Regions from separate parts of the Homo sapiens genome. Here region 1 is linked to region 2. Evidence: promoter capture Hi-C in human tissues and cell types (Jung and others, 2019). All regions are on one chromosome and are shown on one strand. Each heading gives the region's core, a stretch centred on a gene start or on the middle of the fragment in contact. The rest is flanking DNA. Distances are from core to core; before and after follow the strand shown. Region 1 overlaps UBAP1 (ubiquitin associated protein 1). Region 2 holds the start of FAM219A (family with sequence similarity 219 member A).

The links. Contacts are between HindIII fragments. The study calls those that stand out against the background at their distance.
Region 1: a contact is called between a fragment that was not itself captured here and the fragment with the promoter of FAM219A in region 2, in 1 of the 25 tissues and cell types used here (adrenal gland).

The regions. Positions count from the first base shown.
Region 1 is chr9:34,188,847-34,194,201 of GRCh38, forward strand. The region is part of intron 1 of UBAP1 (ubiquitin associated protein 1); the gene reads left to right. It also overlaps the pseudogene RPL35AP2. Among named protein-coding and RNA genes, the nearest start is that of UBAP1, 12 kb to the left of the region's middle. RefSeq lists an enhancer at 4,834-4,883. The HindIII fragment of the contact is 5,102 bases long and covers 1-3,827 here.
Region 2 is chr9:34,455,256-34,460,895 of GRCh38, forward strand. It overlaps FAM219A (family with sequence similarity 219 member A), which reads right to left and starts at 3,315. Exons shown (of 6, transcript NM_001184940.2): 1 at 2,949-3,315. The coding sequence starts at 3,008. DNAI1 (dynein axonemal intermediate chain 1) reads left to right here and starts at 3,550. Exons shown (of 20, transcript NM_012144.4): 1 at 3,550-3,798. The coding sequence starts at 3,751. RefSeq lists enhancers at 1,481-1,981, 3,113-3,653, 3,216-3,510, 3,607-3,676 and a silencer at 2,987-3,236. The HindIII fragment of the contact is 10,660 bases long and covers 1-5,640 here.

The sequences.
Region 1 (5,355 bases), core at 27-2,526, 270 kb before region 2:
CTCAGGAGGCTGAGGCAGGAGAATTGCTTGAAGCCGGGAGGCAGAGGTTTCGGTGAGCCGAGATCGTACCATTGCACTCCAGCCTGGCCGACAAGAGTGAAACTCCATCTCCAAAAAATAAAAAATAAAAAAGATTAGGCTGGCTTTGCCTGTCTTTTGCTTCATCTCATCATCATGGTCTTGGTCCCAGGTGGGGTTTGCATCCTTACTGGTAAGAATGGAATCTTCCTAATCCTAAAATCTTTCTATAGTTTGGGAGTGTTAACATTTCCTTCAGTAGTTTCATGGGGAAGGATATGGGCAGTAACTTCCCCATTTCTTTCTTCTAGTAGATCATTATATCTTTTTTTTTTTTTTTTAAAGACAGAGTCTTGCTGTGTCGCCTAGCTTGGAGTGCAGTGGTGCGATCTTGACTCATTGCAACCTCCTCCTCCAGGGTTCAAGTGATTCTTTCACCTCAGCCTCCCGAGTAGCTGGGATTACAGGCACGTGCCACCATGCCTGGCTAATTTTTATATTTTTAGTAGAAATGGGGTTTCACCATGTTGGCTAGGCTGGTCGCAAACTCCTGAACTCAAATGATCCACCTGCCTCATCCTCCCAAAGTGCTGGGATTACAGGCATGAGCCACCGCACCCGGCCGATCATTATGTCTTATAGGATACCTCATGAGAGAAGTGATCTGGCTGCATGGGTGGAATTCAAGGTCAAATGGTCAGCCAAATTAAAAATCACTGCTGGAGCAGACTTTAGGGGTAGTTTGTGAACTTTCAAATTTGGAAATTATTATTATTATTATTATTTTTTGAGACGGAGTTTTGCTCTTGTTGCCCAGGCTGGAGTGCAATGGTACAATCTTGGCTTACTGCAGCCTCTGCCTCTTGGGTTCAAGCAGTTCTCCTGCCTCAGTCTCCCGAGTAGCTGGGATTACGGGCGTGCTCCACCATGCTCGATTAATTTTGTATTTTTAGTAGAGACGGTGTTTCTCCGTGTTGGTCTGGCTGGACTTGAACTCCTGACCTCAGGTGATCTACCCGCCTCAGCCTCCCAAAGTGCTGGGATTACAGGTGTGAGCCACTGCTCCTGGCCAGACATATTTAATTCTTTCATCAAAGGTTTATTATATTTCCGAGATATTCTAGCCAAAGGAAACAAACTTAACAACTTTTGTTTTCTGAAAATACTTTAGCAAAAATAGAAGGGAGAGGATCAGGAAAAATAACTAATGGATACCAGGCTTAATACCTGGGTGATGAAATAATCTGTACAACAACCCCCATGACACAAGTTTACCTATGTAACAAACCTTCACATGTACCCCTGAACTTAAAAGTTAAAAAAATTTAATGTTAATAAAATCTTAAACAAAAATCACGGAAGGTCTTTAATTGTTTATGTCGTGTCCTATCCGTTTTCTTGAAGAAGAAATATTAGCTAGTTCTTGTAATTTATTTATTTTTTGGGGTGGAGTCCCACTCTGTCACCCAGACTGGAGTGCAGTGGTGTGGTCTTGGCTCACTGCAACCTCTGCCTCCTGGGTCCAAGCGATTCTCCTGCCTCAGCCTCCTGAGTAGCTGGGATTACAGGCCCTTGCCACCATGCCTGGCTAAATTTTTTATTTTTAGTGGAGATGGGGTTTCACCATGTTGGCCAGGCTGGTCTTGAACTCCTGATCTCAGGGGATCCACCTTCCTCAGCTTCCCAAAGTGCTGGGATTACAGACTTGAGCCACCATGCCTGGCAGTTCTTGTAATTTAATAGGGAATCTTTTTTCCTTTCTTTCTTTCTTTTTTTTTTTTTTTTTGGAGACAGGGTCTCGCTCTGTTGCCCAGGCTGGAGTGCAGTGATGCAGTCACAGCTCACTGCTGCAGCCTTGACTTCCTGGGTTCAGGTGATTCTCCTACCTCAGCCTCCCGAGTAGCTGGGACTGCAGGCTCATGCCACCATGCCTGGCTCTTTTTTTTTTTTTTTTTGTATTTTTTGTAGAGATGGGGTTTCATCATGTTGCACAGGCTGGTCTCAAACTCCTAAGTTCAGGTGATCCACCTGCCTCGGCCTCCCAAAGTGTTGGAATTACAGGTGTGAGTCACAGTGCCCAGCCTGCTCTGGATATATTACTGGCATTATATTTAGTGGAAGAGCATATATATATTAGAGTAATGGAGATTTATTTCATTTAGTAGTATAAGAAATTATGTTTAGGTGCAGTTCTAATTTGAGACATTCTGTATCTGTCCTGTCTGATATGTCTCCAACATTGACAGTGGAGATATAAAACATTTTCATCAGTGTAGAAAGTTCTGCTGGACAGCACTGTTGTAGGTCAGTGATTCTCAAAGTTTTAGTGTGTGTATGGATAACTTGGATGTATTATTAAAATGTAGATTCTGAGTCAGTAGCTCTGGTGTGGGCTTGAGAGTTTGTATTTATTTATTTATAGAGATGGGGTCTTGCTATGTTCCCTGGTCTGAAACTTCTGGCCTCAAGCAGTCTTCCCACCTTGGCCTCCTAAAGCACCAGGATTGTGGGTGTGATCCACTGTGCCTGGCCTGTGTAAACTTTAAAATAGTGTCTTTAGCCATGAGGGATGATATTGTAATGGCAGAACTCTGGACAGTGAGTTGAAAGATCGAAAGTTGTAGTTCACTTTTTCCACCATCTTGAAGCTTTTAGAGGCCTGCTGGGAATAGGACTTCTAAAAGGCAAATATGTCTGGAAGGCTGTGGTCCAAGGCCATTTTTTGTTGGCTGTAAGTGTGGTCTCCAGAATCAAAGAGAGCACACAACTGTTTTTAAATCGAAGGTGTTTATGCCTGAGATGAAGCTGAATTCTGTTTGGGCAAGAGATTTGTGCTTATGTATACAAAGCAAAGAACAACACAGTGACTCCTGGTGGCAAACCAAACAAAACCAGAGTAATCTGTGGAAAGATAATTTGCGCCCATGGAAACAGACATGCCAAATTCCAAAGGAATCTTCCTGCTGAGGCCGTTTGGACACAGAATTCACGTGATGTTGTACCCCTCAAGGATTTAAACTACTAAAAAGTAAAAGTGGATTTGTGAACAAAAAAAGTCCTAGTTCAGCTTTCCTGTTTAAAAACCAACCTCTCTCAGCCTTGGATTTTTTTTTTTAATTTTTTAAATTTAAAAAAAATTTTTTTAATTAAATTTTTTTTTTTAGTGATGGGGTTTTGCTGTGTTGCCCAGGTTAGTCTCTAATTCCTGACCTCAAGTGATCGTCCCTCCATGGCCTCCTAAAGTACTGGGATTACAGGCATGAGCCACGGTCCCCGGCCTGTATAAACTTTTTAAATAGTGTCTTTTGCTATGAGAGCTTGTATTGTAATGGCAGAACTGTGGACAGTGAGTTGAAAGATCTAAAGTTCAGGCCAGGCGCGGTGGCTCATGCCTGTAATCCCAGCACTTTGGGAGGCTGAGGTGGGTGGATCATGAGGTCAGGAATGTGAGACCAGCCTGACCAACATGGTGAAACCCCGTCTCTACTGAAAATACAAAAATTAGCCGGGTATGGTGGCGCACGCCTGTGATCCCAGCTACTCAGGAGGCTGAGACAGGAGAATCACTTGAACCCGGGAGGTGGAGGTTGCAGTGAGCCGAGGTCACGCCACTGCACTCTAGCCTGGGTGGATAGAATGAGACTCCATCTCAAAAAAAAAAAAAAAAAAAAAAGATCTACACTTCTAGTTCATCTTTCCAGTTTTAAAACCAATCTCTCTCAGCCTTGAACTCTTTTTTTATTTTTCAATTTTCTTTAGGGATGGGGGTCTTGCTATGTTGCCCAGTTTGGTCTCAAACTCCTGGCCTCGAGCATACCTCCCACCTTGGCTTCCCAAAGTGCTGGGATTATAGGCATGAGCCACCAAGCCTGGCTAATGTATTTTTTTAAAATCACAAGTTCATAATGATATTTATTATTTGTTTAACTTTTAGCCCCTGCAAAGAAATATAATTTAGATTTTAGAATTATAGGACTTTAAATATTTTGCCTTTCCTCTTTTATATAAAAATATTAGTTCTTTACAACTATAATTACTTATTTTTCTATATTGGACTCATATAAAAAGGGTTTTAAAATAGTAATACTGCTATTATAGCTGATAAGTACAATCTAAAATCTTTGCTATTCTTTATGTTCTTAAAATACTGTGTAAGGGAGGGCCAGGCGCAGTGGCCCACGTCTGTAATTCCCAGAACTTTGGGAGGCGAGGCAGGCAGATCACTTGAGGTCAGGAGTTTGAGAACAGCTTGGCCAATGTGGCAAAACCCCATCTCTCTACTAAAAATACAAAAAATTAGCCAGGCGTGGTGGTATGCACCTAGAATCCCAGTTACTCAGGGGGGCTGAGGCAGGAGGATCGCTTGAACCCAGGAGGTGGAGGTTGCAGTGAGCTGAGATCACGCCACTGCGCTCCCGCCTGGGTGACAGAGTGAGACTCTGTCTCAAAAAAATAAAAATAATAAAAATATTGTGTAGGGGAAGCTCTCAAACCACGTTCTTCCTCTACTCTCACACCACCACAACAATCATCAACACAGAACACATCTGTGACCAAAAGTGTGGGGGTTTTTCACCTCTGCACCAAGCAGTGGACACCAGCTCGGTGTTCTCCAATTCAGGTTGGGGGCTCAGTCTTCAAGACTGCCTGCACACCCCTGGACACCAGTTGCATGTCTGGGGCCCTGGATCTTATGACCCACTGTCTTCATGTTGGTGTTCCCACGATCCCCTCTTTGGGTTTGGTTAATTTGCTGGAGCATCTCACAGAACTCAGGGAAACACTGAAATTTATTGGTTTATTCTGAAGAATCTTACAAAGGATATAGATGAAGGGATGCATAGAGCAAGGTATGGGGGAAGAGGTGTGGAGCTTCTATACCCTTCTTGGGGCACCACCATCCAGGAACCTCCAGGTGTTCAGCTATCCAGAAGTTCTCTGAACCCAGTCCTCTTGGGCTTTTGTGGAAGCTTCATGATGTCAGGATGCCTTCTCTCAGGGTATAGGGCAGTCCCCTCTCTGGGGAGGGTGTTAAGACCCACAATCAGAAAGGTGGGGAAAGATTATAGTCCTTTCTTGGGGCAGGTGAAAGTAGGGCAGAGGAAGAGGTTTTGTTTCCTGAGACCTGCCCCTGAGACCTAACACACCCAATATTGTATCAGAAGACTGTAACTAGGGCTGTGGGAATTATGAACCAGGAACAGTGGATGAAAACCAATATATGTCATAACACTACAAATATATTTTACTGATGTATACAATTAGAATACCGAGTTCTAAAGTCACTTCAAATAATTATATTCTCTGGTCATTTTACTAATTTTCTGTAAAGTTAGG
Region 2 (5,640 bases), core at 2,065-4,564:
AAAGAGATAGTTTGTCTTCATCTCATAAATGGAAAAACAATCGAGGAAGGAGGAGAGACTTCCTAGAGGTCTCAATAAATGGCAAAAAAATGAAATAGGTCATAGCTAAGTCTGAGCCTGGGACCCTGGTTTTTATGGCCTATCCAAATACCCTTAAAGAGCCACTTTGCCCTCTTTTTTGCCCTTTACCTCTATGATATGCTATCTTGATTTTTTTTTTTTTTTTTTGGAGACAGAGTCTTGCTCTGTTGCCCAGGCTGGAATGTAGTGGTAGGCACACGGCTCACTGCAGCCTCAACCTCCTGGGCTCAAGCAATCCTCCTGCCTCGGCCTCCTGAGTAGCTGGTACTACAGGCATGCAGCACCATGCTGAGCTAATTTTAAATATTTTTGTAGAGATGGAGTCTCACTGTGTTTCCCAGGCTGGACTATCTTAATTCTTTATGCCCCAAAATGAAGACTCCTGAAGAAACATCACACAAGATTCTGCTGGTCTCAACAATACACAGGGTATTTAAAGGGTTTTGAGGTGCCTCTGGAATACAACCTGGGGACAGAGGTCAGGAAGCGGGGCAATGTCTATGACCCTCAAATGAGGGATGACTATATTGCTATTTCCATAAGGCTCTCACTCAAACTCAATAAAGTATTCTCAGGCCGGGCATAGCAGCTCACTCTTGTAATCCTAGCATTTTGGGAGGCCGAGGCAGGCAGACCACTTGAGGTCAGGCATTCAAGACCAGCCTGGCCAACATGGCGAAACCCTGTCTCTACTAAAAATACAAAAATTAGCCATGCGTGGTGGCAGGGGCCTATAATCCCAGCTACTTGGGAGGCTGAGGTAGGAGAATCGCTTGAATCCAGGAGGTGGAGGTTGCATTGGGCCAAGATCGTGCCACTGCACTCTAGCCTGGGTGACAGAGAGGGACCCTGTCTCAAAAAAAAAGAAAAAAAAGTATTCTCTTGCACAAGGGTGACTTTAGCAGTTAAAGGGGTCTGAAGGCAGTCAGAGCTTTTCTAAGTGCCTCCTTGCCACAGATGCTTCTCCAACTCCAGGGCCACACAGACCGGAAGCAGCTCAAGAGTTCTCTACCCAGCCAAACCACTATTCAGAATTTCAGGCAATAACAGAAGCACCAAGGACAACTGAGAGCCTGGTGGCTCTATTTCTTCTCCCCTTTCCTTGAACAGCTATTTCCTTCCTTTTTGAGAACCCCAGATGGGTGACAAGAAACAACTCATTGCTTCCTTTTCCTGACACACTTGAACCTCCTCTTCCTTCATCCACCCTCTATTTTGATTCTTGATTAGATGCTTAGAACTGGAAGGGCAATCTCGTTTGACAAGCCAGGTTAGCTAGAAAGAGAACTCAGAAAGGAAAATTATCTTCAGCCAGCCCAAAGTCCTTCTTTAAGTTCATGGGATGGACTTCTCTCCAGGATTTTCTGGCTCCCAAATAATCCAATGATGGCATGAGGCTAGGAAAAAGTCCTGCAACACCTCTCTCCGGTTTAATATTGTATGCTTCTGTAAAACTTCTTTGTTTTGGCTCTTAGAACTGTCTAAGCAGTCATGAAAGGGGGAAAAAGCCTTTGTCTCCTGCTAAGTGGCCACTAATGATTCTCTCTACCATCCCTCAAAAGGTGTGACAAAAAGGTGGTGATGGGTCCCTGCCGAGGCCCATCTTGGCTGCTGTAATGGGTAGGTTACTCGCCCAGGAAGCTACAAAGCACATCTGTCAGCCAGGGGGTTATAGGCCCAAGGGTAGACCTGTTTCTGGCCACCCTGCCTAACACAGAAGCAGAACTTCAGAACTTGGAGAACTCAGCTCTGCTCCAGCCAGCACAGCTCAGAGAAATGGGGCATCCACACTTTCGGATTTGTAGCCCACCTTGCCTCCTTCCAATTCCAGCTCAGGCTCCAGGGGGATAAAGCGAACACAGCCTAGACATTCCCTCTCTTCCCCCCTCACTATACGAGCTGGCTAGGCCTCCACGTCTCCCACCCGGTTGCCTGACAGACAAGCGAGGTCAGGGAGCCCCCTGGGCGGTGGCCAGCAAGCATGGTCTCCCTTAGGCCTAGCCTCGGTGCACCCGAGTTGCCCTCCCCCTTCCATTCCCTCCGCGCCAGCAGCGATGACATCATTCCTCCCTGACTCCGGGACCGCGGACAGGCGGCAGGATCCGCGCCCAGCAAGGACTTCAGGCACGTAGGCCTAAGATGATGGGGGCTCTTCCCAACCAGTGCGCACAGGCAGCTCCAGCGCGACCCCACTTCCTCTCCCGTCGGTTCCCGAGCACTCTCATCTGCACCCCGATTCCCCATCTGGTCGCCGCGCACTCTCCTTCCCGGTTTAGATGCCCCCAGCCTGGTCTGCCTGCGCTCCCCACCGGAGAACGGAATTCCCAGGTTCTGCACCAACCACCTTCCCCCACTGGGTCCCTCGCCCCGGCCCAGCGTTCCTGTCCGTATATCCAGCGGACAGGCGGGCAAGCCCCTCCTCTTCTAAAAGCTGATTCCCAATCTCTCTTAGCCTGACGGCTCCCCCGCCCTAAGCATCACAGGCCTCTAGGACTAAACGCCTCCCCACCTCCCATCCCAGACCCCTGGGCCTGCCGCCGGCGGTGCCCCATGGCAGTTCCCTCGCCAGTCCCTGCTATGGGCCTCCACTAGCGGTGTGCACCTTTGTGCCCCCTCCGTTCCATCCGACGGTGCCCTGCTTCCACCGACGGTGCCCTCCGCCCTTACAGGTCCCTTTGCTCTCATCCAGCATATTCTCCCACGGTTTTCTTGTCCTGCAAGTCCCCGTCCCCCGGCAATACGTTTTCAGGGATCTCTTTGCCCCATCCGATGGCGCCCCTCCGCACGATCCCCCCGGCCTGATTCCCTCCCTCCCCCTCAAGCGACGCCCCCTCCGGCCTTGGCCTGCCCGCCGCCCGCCCCCTCACCAGCGGCTGCATCTCCGAGTGCGCGGTGGGCACCTGGAACCGGTCGATCTCCTCCATCATGGTGCCGGCGGGCGAGCGGGCCAGGGGCCGGGCGCGGCCGCGGACGCCGACAGGACCGCGCGGGGCGGCGGCCCCAGGAGCCCGGCGGGTGGTGCAGACTAGGCCTCCCCGGACCACTCGGGCGGGCAGGGGCCGGGCGGATGCAGGGGTGGGCGGGGGCGAGAGGTTCGCAGACTGGCTGAGGCCGGCGTGACTCCGTGGGCTTGCCTAGCACTACCGCGGCTGTGGCCGGGCCGAGCCGCAGGTCTTGCCTCGCCTCCTACTCCGCTGCCGCCTCCTGTCAGCAGCTCAGCCACTGCGGTGACTCGGCAACTCCACTTCCGGGTCCGGGACACCGCCCGGATCTTGCATTATTCATGAGGAGGCGGTGCCTGGGGACCCCAGCCCCACCCACATGCGGGAGTTCCGAATGCGCGCGGCCGCCCAGCTGTGATTCCTGAGGGGGCGGGGCTTAGTGGAGACTCGCTCGCCGCGCGCCCAACCCCGCCTCCTTTCCGGGCCGGCTGGGCGCGCCGAAGCGCCTGCGCCTTGGCTGCTGGTCGGTTGCTGGGTAACCGCGTCAGGGAGTTGGATTCTATCCTGCAAGGGCACGGGGACCCACAACGACGGCTGTCCCTAAAGAACCGTTGCGACTGGTAACTGAAGTGGAAGAGAGTCCAGATTTCTTGTGTGTGGTCAAGGAGACGGACAAACTTTTTGTCTTCAGACGAGGGAGCGTTTTGTAGGCTCTCCAGGGGTTGAGATGATTCCTGCTTCTGCGAAGGCTCCCCATAAACAGCCTCATAAGCAGGTAACGTACGCACACCTTCCTTCTGATGACCTCTGACCTTCGTCGTCGCCAGTGACCACTAATCATACCTCTCCTACTGATCCTTGATCTTTTCTCTGTTGACCCCAGCCTTCTCACCCCCGTGACCTCTGGTAAGTGCTCCCACTGACCTCTGACTCTGTCCTACTCTTTCCCACTAATCCCGGCCTCCTCTCCCATACTACCCCAATCCACCGTTTCTTACCTCTCTCCTTTTATCCACCATTCCCATCTCTTCACTTCACTTTACCCCATGGACTCATTCTGACCAGTCTATTCTCCTTAACTTCCCCATCCCCATTCCCACGAGTCCCTTCCTCCTTGTTCTCACATTCTTGTCCCAAAGGAATTTTTCTTTTTCTTTTTCTTTCTTTCTTTCTTTTTTTTTTTTTGAGACAGAGGCTCGCCCTGTAGCCCAGGCTAGAATGCAGTGGCGCCATCTCAGCTCTCTGTAACCTCTGCCTCCTGGGTGCAAGCGATTCTCCCACTTCAGCCTGACGAATAGCTGGAACCAAAGGCATAGGCCACCACGCCCGGCTAAATTTTGTGTTTTTGGTAGAGACGGGGTTTCCCCATGTTGCCCAGGCCCGTCTCTAACTCCTGAGCTCAAGCGATCCTCCTACCTTGACCTTCCGAAGTGCTGGGATTACAGGCGTGAGCCACGGCGCCCAGCCTCAAAGGCATTCTTTATCCAACCCTTTGCTGTGTGCCTAGCTCCAGGCTAGGTGGGAACACAGCTCTTGCTGTTTGGGAGCCCACAGAGGGTGTGCAAGAGAACTAAACAGAATACAGGACAGGCTATGTGCAGGAGTGTGATTTTATTTTCTGTGCTGGGAGATTTATGAGGAGAGAAAGGGCAGGCAAAGAGGAAGAGGAGAGAGGCCCTTTTCTCATCCCTGTCCTCACCCCCACAGTGCACAACCCAAACACTCTGCCCCAACTATTTCTAGAGCCTCATATCTCTCTCTTCCCTGCGAGCCCCTGGTCCACTCCTATGATTCATTCAGCTATGTGAACATTATGCTCTTATTACCACCTGGACAGATGTCATCCCTTCTCACAGGAAACCCGAGTCATCCCCCACTTAACCCACTGAGCACAGAGTTCTGCTTTCTTCCTCAGCATCACCACGGAAGGCAAGGCAGTCCCAGTTTCCCAAGGAGTCTTCTGTGGTGAAGCAACTCAGTCCTTCAGGAACTTTTTCCAAACCCTTTATGAATTACCACTCAGGCTAATGTGTAGTTTCTAGCTCTGGAAAGCAGGACTTCTATATATTTATTCCAGATTTACCCCACTCAAGTCTAGGTACATTGAGGTTTAGAGAGCCAATCTCCATGCTACTTATGACTTTGCATATTTTGGTCTGGCCACCTCCATGTTAGCCTTTGCTCCTCTGCCTCTTTTACCTGGGCTTCTGTAGCAGATGGACCTGACTTTCTTAGGTCTCTGCAGCCTTGGGGAAGCTGCTAGTCCCATATGAACATGCCCTAATTTTATGTTGGGGTTGGGCTTTACGTTGAAGTTCATGTACTGTGTTTGAGCCTCCTGACCCTATATTTACAGGCAGTTTGCTTTTATTTATTTTTTATTTTTGTATTTTTTATTTTTGAGACGGAGTTTCACTCTTGTCACCCAGGGTGGAGTGCAGTGGCGCAATCTAGGTTCACTGCAACCTCCACCTCCCCGATTCAAGGGACCTGCCTCAGCCTCCCAAGTAGCTGGGATTACAGGCATGCACCACCATGCCTGGCTAATTTTTTTTTATTATTTTATTTTATTTTATTTTTGAGACGGAGTCTTGCTCTGTCGCCCAGGCTGGAGTGC